Linked DNA regions of Homo sapiens: regions 2 and 3 are each linked to region 1. Evidence: promoter capture Hi-C in 16 types of primary human blood cells and fetal thymus (Javierre and others, 2016). All regions are on one chromosome and are shown on one strand. Each heading gives the region's core, a stretch centred on a gene start or on the middle of the fragment in contact. The rest is flanking DNA. Distances are from core to core; before and after follow the strand shown.

The links. Contacts are between HindIII fragments. The CHiCAGO score rates a contact against its expected background, and 5 or more counts as called.
Region 2: a fragment that was not itself captured here is called in contact with the fragment with the promoter of CD34 in region 1 in 1 of 17 cell types (M1 macrophages); the score reaches 5.5 in M1 macrophages.
Region 3: a fragment that was not itself captured here is called in contact with the fragment with the promoter of CD34 in region 1 in 1 of 17 cell types (naive B cells); the score reaches 6.6 in naive B cells.

What each region holds. Positions count from the first base shown.
Region 1 is chr1:207,909,854-207,912,553 of GRCh38, reverse strand. CD34 (CD34 molecule) reads left to right here and starts at 1,429. Exons shown (of 8, transcript NM_001025109.2): 1 at 1,429-1,552. The coding sequence starts at 1,474. LOC107985253 (a long non-coding RNA gene) reads right to left here and starts at 2,186. Exons shown (of 4, transcript XR_001738424.2): 1 at 1,997-2,186; 2 at 1,716-1,899. The HindIII fragment of the contact is 7,449 bases long and covers 1-2,700 here.
Region 2 is chr1:207,980,857-207,983,556 of GRCh38, reverse strand. No RefSeq gene overlaps it. Among named protein-coding and RNA genes, the nearest start is that of LINC02767, 23 kb to the right of the region's middle. The HindIII fragment of the contact is 180 bases long and covers 1,262-1,441 here.
Region 3 is chr1:207,786,102-207,788,801 of GRCh38, reverse strand. The region is part of intron 11 of CD46 (CD46 molecule); the gene reads right to left. Among named protein-coding and RNA genes, the nearest start is that of MIR29C, 14 kb to the left of the region's middle. The HindIII fragment of the contact is 1,381 bases long and covers 715-2,095 here.

The DNA.
Region 1 (2,700 bases), core at 180-2,679:
TACCATTCCGTTGTATTCAATCAAATTAGCATATCAGGCCTTTGCTCTTATTGTGTGATGAAAGACTTTGTTCCCTGTTTAAAGGAATGCTAGGCAACAAGACCAGAATAAGGAGATTTTGGGTTTGTTTTTAGACCTGGATCCTTCTCCTGTGCAACCCCAACGCATAGTAGGTTTGAGATGGACTATAAAGGTAAAGCTACTTTTATAATGCTAGAGTGTCTGCGGAGAAATCAGAAAGGACCACAGAGTGCTGGTCTGGCTTCTCTTTTTTCCCTTTAGGCTATGTGGTACAGACATCATGGAAGAGCCTGAACTGAGTATTTATAATTTCATGATTCTGCTCTGGATATCAGAGCAGCCTCTCCCAGGTTATACCTTATCTGATCCTCCCCTGGTGCCATCATCTGCCCAGGCTGGCTTCTCCTTTCTCCCGTCTCTACGTCCCCAAGACTAGGCTGCCTACCCGGCTCAGAGTTTCTTCTATTCAGTACAACCAACACCCAGAGGAACTGGTGAGGAACAGGAAGCTCAAGGATCTATCAAGTGGTGGAGGATGGAGTCACAGAAAGTCCTTTTTCTGATGGGAGAGCAAGGTGAAATCCCTAGTGGCTTAGACCCAGGGCTGGAGAGGGGATAACTGGTGAGAAGGCATCCAGGGAAGTCCTTTTTCTTTAGGATGATGGTGATGGGGAACTAAATGGGGAAATATGGAAGGTCACAGGAAAAGTTAACACAAGTTAGCAAAAAGTTAACATAACACAAAAAGGTCTTGCAGGAAAAAAAAAAGAAAAGAAAAGAAAGAAAAAGTCTCCAAGAATGGTTTGGACAGCCAAAATGAATACTTATAGTCACGTATACCTGCTCACTCCTGACGCTTCACTCACACACAGCACAGGATCTGGTGAGGCTATCACTAAATGTGCCACATTGTGGTTAAGTTTTACCTGATTAACGAAATGCTCACACTTCTAAACTGAGGTCCTTACAGTAGATTCCTTTTGCAAGATTGTTACTGGCTTACAACTTAAAAATAAAGGAAAATCACAAGGAAAGAAAAGTGGGGAAAAAATCGGAGGAAACTTGCCCCTGCCCTGGCCACCGGCAAGGCTGCCACAAAGGGGTTAAAAGTTAAGTGGAAGTGGAGCTTGAAGAAGTGGGATGGGGCCTCTCCAGAAAGCTGAACGAGGCATCTGGAGCCCGAACAAACCTCCACCTTTTTTGGCCTCGACGGCGGCAACCCAGCCTCCCTCCTAACGCCCTCCGCCTTTGGGACCAACCAGGGGAGCTCAAGTTAGTAGCAGCCAAGGAGAGGCGCTGCCTTGCCAAGACTAAAAAGGGAGGGGAGAAGAGAGGAAAAAAGCAAGAATCCCCCACCCCTCTCCCGGGCGGAGGGGGCGGGAAGAGCGCGTCCTGGCCAAGCCGAGTAGTGTCTTCCACTCGGTGCGTCTCTCTAGGAGCCGCGCGGGAAGGATGCTGGTCCGCAGGGGCGCGCGCGCAGGGCCCAGGATGCCGCGGGGCTGGACCGCGCTTTGCTTGCTGAGTTTGCTGCGTGAGTACCGCCCGCGCGCCGCGGCCGCTTGGCTTCGCCGCGGGGAGGGTGGAGGCTTTCTGGGAGGCTGAACAGCAGAGCAGAGTCTCACGGAGGGAAGGGACCCCTGCCCAACCCACGCACTGCCGCCCACAGCTGCTTCCCCCCGGGGCCAGCGCCTCACCTGGGAGCTGACGGGGGTGGGAGGGGAAGGGAAGGCCATCACCCCCGCGAGTGTGCGTTAGCCGAGGTGTGAATCGGTCAGCACGACTGGTTCCAATGGACTGAGATAAAGCGCTTTGGAGATGCCAGGGTCTCTTCTGGTTGCCAGAGGCGCGGAGTGCGAAGTTGCAGCCAGAACCGGGAGACTGGGGAGGAGAGAAGCAGGAAAAGTTTTGTGGCTCTTGGTTGATTCAGAAAGTATAGACACGGAGCGGATTGCTGGGAAGGGGCCGGTGTGCCCACCTTGCACAGGGACTGGGAGAGCCAGAAGTGGACATTAAGGAATTCGAGGGAAGCGAATCAGGGATGAGGCTCCAGGTCCCAGGCCAGGGGTGTTCGGAATGAACAGTCCGTGAAAAGGAAAAACAAAACCAAACAACCAACCAAACAAAAACCTTGCATTTAAGATTGGGAAGCTGAGTTTGAATTCCCACTTCAGCAACCCCACCGCGGAGGAGGTAGAAGTAGACAGAATTTGCTCTGCGCCCAGCCTCGCTCGCCTTACCAAAAACCGTCACCCCTGCACAAATTTCAAAACTTGTCACCTTTTGGAGTTTTCTTCCTCTGCCCCTGCTCCAAGTTCTAAAGCTAGTGGATGGGTTAGAACACTGCCCCCACTCACCTACACATATCCTTACTCTTAAGGTCTTGCTCTCACTTCGGTTAAAAAAAAAATAGGCACCCGGTAAATATTTATACTCGATTACTTTCCTTGGGGAATGACATTCTCCACCTCATCTCTTTGCACTTGGAAGGTTTGAAACTTTTGAAACTTTGTACATTGCTCTCCCTTTTGCTTACAGCACTCTAGGGCTCCCAATTCTGTACTCTCACTACATCCTAAGGGCCACCCACTGTGGCCCTGCAGAGTGACCTGGACTAGACCTCTTTGTTCCCAGTCTCCTCTGTTGTCCATCTTTGGGTCCGCCCAGCTGGGGACAGCTGCC
Region 2 (2,700 bases), core at 102-2,601, 71 kb before region 1:
TTTAGGGCTTATCTTCCTCACCAATAATACATGGTTGTTAATACTAAAGTCATCCTCGTTGGGCTGTTGTGAGATTTAAATGAGACTTTGGGTGTGTACTAGATATTCTGCATCTGCCAATCTCCTCTCCTCCCTTCCCCACCCTGCTCTGTGCTCCTGGAGGCTTCCAACTGGGTCTTCCAGGAGACTCCAGAGGAAGAAGATGAGAGGGCTGATCACCCTGCTGCATGCATGCATGTGTACACATGCGTGCACACACACATGCACACACACGTGCACACACACATGCACACACAGTTTGGCAATGCATCTAAGGGTTGGACAGCCCCGGTCTCATGCAGAGTAACTCCTCCTTCCCTGGTCCCAGCATGCCCAGGGATGGAACTTTGCTCTCGCCAAGGTGCCTTACCCCACTTGTTGGTTTCCTTTAATAGCCACACCTTTGTAAATAGCACTCCCTTAAATTATCCTCAATGGACTTGTCTGAGTATGTCATTTCTTTCCTGCAGCAACCTTGACTATATAGGGTGTGTAATATTATAATCTTGGATGTGTCTGTACCAAAGAAAGACCTGTTTCTTTCTGATTTAATGTCTTCTATGACCACTGGGCACCCCCACTTCTGAGGGATGCAGGAGAAGATGGGGATTTTATTCCACTCGGCGCAGTTTATTCTTAGCACCACTTACGTTCAAGGAACTATTCAGAGAGTTTGCAAAGATGCCCAAGGAATAATTCCTGCCCTGAAAGGGAACAAATGAACATCCTGCGCTTTCCCATCTTTGTGCCTTTGCTCACAGTGTTCCCCTCACCCTGAATGTTCTCTTTCCATCAGTCTAAACCCTCCACTATTACCTTCTTAAGAAACCATTCCATATCCCCAAACCATAAATAAAGCCTTTCTCCCCCAAACACTTCTTTTAAAGCACTTATCTGTTTTTAGTTTGTATTATTCAGTTTGGTTCAACACACATTTACCTGGTGCTTATTTTATGCCAAGCCCTAGGCCAGATGCTGAGAAGTGCAAGGAAAAATATTACACAGTTTCCCCCCTAAGGGAGCTCACTCTCTAGCTGGGGAGACAGAAACATAAATACTTACGATGCAAAGGGAGAGAGGTCGTAACAGAAGTTTGTACAGAACTCTACAGGTTTTAGTTAAGGGAAACACTGTGGAAGCATCTATATAAATGTGGGGCAATCAAGAATATTAGAAGGATGGCACTACACTGTCAGGTGTAGGTTAGGGGAGGCTGGAAGCTTCAGCCTAACAGAAGTCCAGCACACAGGCACATCCGACATGGCACAGAGCATACAAGCAACCATTGGGCAAGCATGAGGCTGTGCTCTTGTTTCCCTGCTACATCTATTGATGGCCTGCAGGGGCGGTATAGGACCACCCCATGCCCTGGTGCCTGGTGGGCCATGGACCAGCTGAAGCTTGATGTCTGATGAAAGGGCTCTAGCTGCTTCCCATCTAGAGTCACAGACCAGACCATAAACTCTGACAGTGGTGCCAGCATAATCCCCCAAACAGCCAAACCTCCAGGGGTCATGAGGCTGAGCACAAGCCCAGATCAGCCATTCTGCAGGAGAAAGCTGGGCAATTTGAAATGATGTAAATTCAAGATATCCTTCTCTCCACAGCTGCACAAGGTCTTGTAAACTCACTATCACAATGAAGAGGACCAGGGAGAGGGAGAAGACATTTCGAAGACTGAGCATTTACCCCCCAAAAGAATGAGTCATTGTTTTCTGACAAGATGGCCAATGAGCATAGGCTACTGGCTCCCACCTCCAAAATTAATCTTGGGGAAACCACAGCAGAGAAAATATACCATGGATCTGATGATCCAAAGATAAAACAGTGAGAAATTCCAGGAAGACCAAAGGCTTCTGAAGACAGAGATCCAGTGTGTGTGAAGGAGACGGGTGGGTGGATGAATGGGAATAGAAAAGGGAGAAGCCCCAGTGGGATATTAGTTGCTCCAAAGTTGTGGTCTTGTACCCCCTCTACACACACATGCACACACACACACACACACACACAAGGTGACCATTGTCTACCTAGAACAAGCAGCATCATAACCAAGTCCTCAGAGATTCCAAGAATATAATCAGAGAAAACCAAAAACCCTATTAGGATAAGAGCTAATGGGACCAGAAATGGACTTCTGTCTGCCCTTGGGCATTCGTTCATCCATCCTACATCCTCTGCTGCCCCTTTAACCCTGAAGCCTGCTGGATCTACTAAAGGGATGGCCACCTCCCAAGTCTGCTTCTTTGAAAGGAAAATACTGGACAGAGGGGTTGCACAGTAAGAAAGTAGCATCTAAAAGGGATCCTAAATTGGGAAGGGGGATAGCAGGTTGCTGGAACATATCAAGAGGGTTTCTGTGGAACCAGGGGCTCTCTGGCTTGGAGCTCATTCCCTCCCCTCTTATTTAAATTCAGCAGGAAGTAATAGACTAAGATTTCAGATGCTCCTTCACTACACAGTACTGCGCAGAATAACTGACAGCCCCAAGGGAACATAAGTTTACGGGCCAAATTAATTTGACCTCAAGGAATAAAACCACTTTAAAAGAAAGGCAACAAACTGAACAATACGCATCCTGTGAACCAGGATAATTGAGACAGATACACCAAGATTTTAAACAAGCATAATAAATATTCCCAACAGAAGAGAAGATACTAAAAT
Region 3 (2,700 bases), core at 156-2,655, 120 kb after region 1:
GATGAAGGCTGCAGAAGAGTAATTACGTTCCCAAATCACCATAAATACCAGTTTACAAGAAATACATTTTGTGCCAGGCTTTAACAACAATTTGAGATTATTTGTGCCTGCTAGCCTGCTTCCAGTTACCCCCGGAAGTGGAGAAGTGCCTCCAGACATTTTATAGTCTTTATAAGAAGTTTCTAAGGCCACAACAGCCAATCTGGGGGGACAAGATTATGGACATTAAACAGTGCAAAGAAAATAATGGAAATCTTTGGGGTTTTTTTGTGTTTTTTGTTTTTGAGATGGAGTCTCACTCCGTCACCCAGGCTGGAGTGCAGTGGCGCAATCTCGCTCACTGCAAGCTCCGCCTCCGGGGTTCACGCCATTCTCCTGCCTCAGCCTCCCAGAGTAGCTGGGACTACAGGCGCCCGCCACTATTTTTTTTTTTTTTTTTTTGTATTTTTAGTAGAGACGGGGTTTCACCGTGTTAGCCAGGATGGTCTTGATCTCCTGACCTCGTGATCTGCCCGCCTCGGCCTCCCAAAGTGCTGGGATTACAGGCGTGAGCCACCAGGCCCGGCTGGAAATCTTTGTTTTTTAAGAGTTAAAGAAGGTAAGAAAAGCCAAGTACTATTTATTACCCCATAGCCTTTTTTTAAGGATACACATGGATGAGGAATCTTAAAAACTTCAATTATCTTAAATATTAGAAAAATTTGCCAATAAGCTTCATAGTGTTTCTTCAGACTTCAACAATATAGGCACATCAGTAGTGGGCAACACCCTGGTCAGTGTAGCCCAGGCACAGCAGCAGCATCAGCACTGGGAGCTCACTAGACAGGCAGGGTCTCAGGCTCCACCCCAAACCCAATGAATCAGAATCTGTACTTTAACAGATTTCCAGGTGACTAATGTGCACATTAAAGTCAGAGAAACATTCCTCTAGACTCTGAAGAAGAAAGATAAACCACCCTCACATTCAGTTCAGCTATCAAAATAACATGGAACTACAAAATAATAGATCCATAAAGAGAGCCTAGCTTTGGATTCAGCCATTACATATGCTGAATTTCCAATCGAGTATGTTCCTGTCATAAAAAGGGTAACATCTATTCTAAAAGATTCCCACGCAGTTTATATTTTAAAGTTCAAAGGCAATTAGGAGTTTCGTCTCTCACACCATTTTCTGGACTATTTTTCCTCAAGTTGTGCTACTATTTGCAGGATTAATTATGTTGCATTGGCTAAAGATATCATACCTTCCCAAAATATTTTAAAATTTTAATAATGGCAACTGTCAGTTGGACCCTATGCTGTAAAATATGGGCTTTAAAAAAAAATCACTGGACAAATTAATTTTGGAATCTCAGTTCACTACTGCTATTGAACCTTTCATTTGGGAGTGTAACAGTCAGATAACTGTTGAGCTTTAAAAGACCCATTAAGGCCGGGCGCGGTGGCTCATGCCTGTAATCCTAGCACCTTGGGAGGCCGAGGTGGGCGGATTACCTGAGGTCAGGAGTTCAAGACCAGCCTGACCAACATGGTGAAACCCCATCTCTAGTACAGGTACAACAAATTAGCCGGTGGTGGTGGTGCACGACTGTAATCCCAGCTACTCGTGAGGCTGAGGCAGAGAATCCCTTGAACCCAGGAGGCCAAGGTTGCAGCGAGCCAAGATTGCGCCATTGCACTCCAGCCTGGGTGACAGAGCAAGACTCCATCACAAAAAAGCAAAAAACAACAACAGAAAAACCATTAACTGCTAGCTAGAGAGAGTTTGATTAATACTTGTTAATGAACCTTTAAAAATTCTGATGCAGTGATATTTTAAACAAAGAAGGAAAATAAGCAGAATGCGACTTTGTTTTGTTTTCTTTAGAACTTGTTTCTACGCAAACCTTATGGATTTGTAAAAATATTCCATTGATAATATTTTGTACTCACGTTGTAGATATGTAACTTTTAGAATATACAACTGATAGATAAATCAAATATGCATATCGTGTTCCATTAATACAAGATTTAAGATTCAAGTGAAGGGATTATGGGTATTTCAAAAGATAACCAAGTAATATGAAAAAAGTTTGAGTTCCTTATGAGTAAAGCTTGTACTTTTATGACTTAGCCCAAACCTGATGATCAGTATAAAAGGAATATATATCATAAAACCATGAGTACCAAAAGTCTTAAAATTATTAGGTTTGATTTCAAAGCTATTTCTAAAACTATAGGGGAAAACAGTTTTTAAAAATCAGTAAAAATGAATGTATATTATCTTTCAGAAATTTCAAAGCACCTAATCTTAGTCTGTGTTCCAGGATTCATTCTAAGTCTTTTGTTAAACTGTAAGCTCTTTAACTAAAATTTGAGTTTGATGTTTTAAAACCCTATTTTCTTTAGAAGATATGTACTTGTACATTTTTCTTCTATTCTAAACCCACTCACTTTTTACATTTTTATATATTAAAAGACACAGTTAATTGAGGTACCTTATAGATCTAACCCCTCTCAGCAATTTTAACTTTAACCCTATCAGTTTTACTGCAATCTGGTAAATTCAGAGAACATAAGAGGGAAATCGGATAGTGTTGTTTTGAATCCCCCAGTTTAACATGTATAAATAACAACTTTAAATGAAAAGACACCAAATTGGGTATTTAAATGATATGCCTACATAGCTTCTTGCAACTAGCTAAGCTATATAGACAAGTG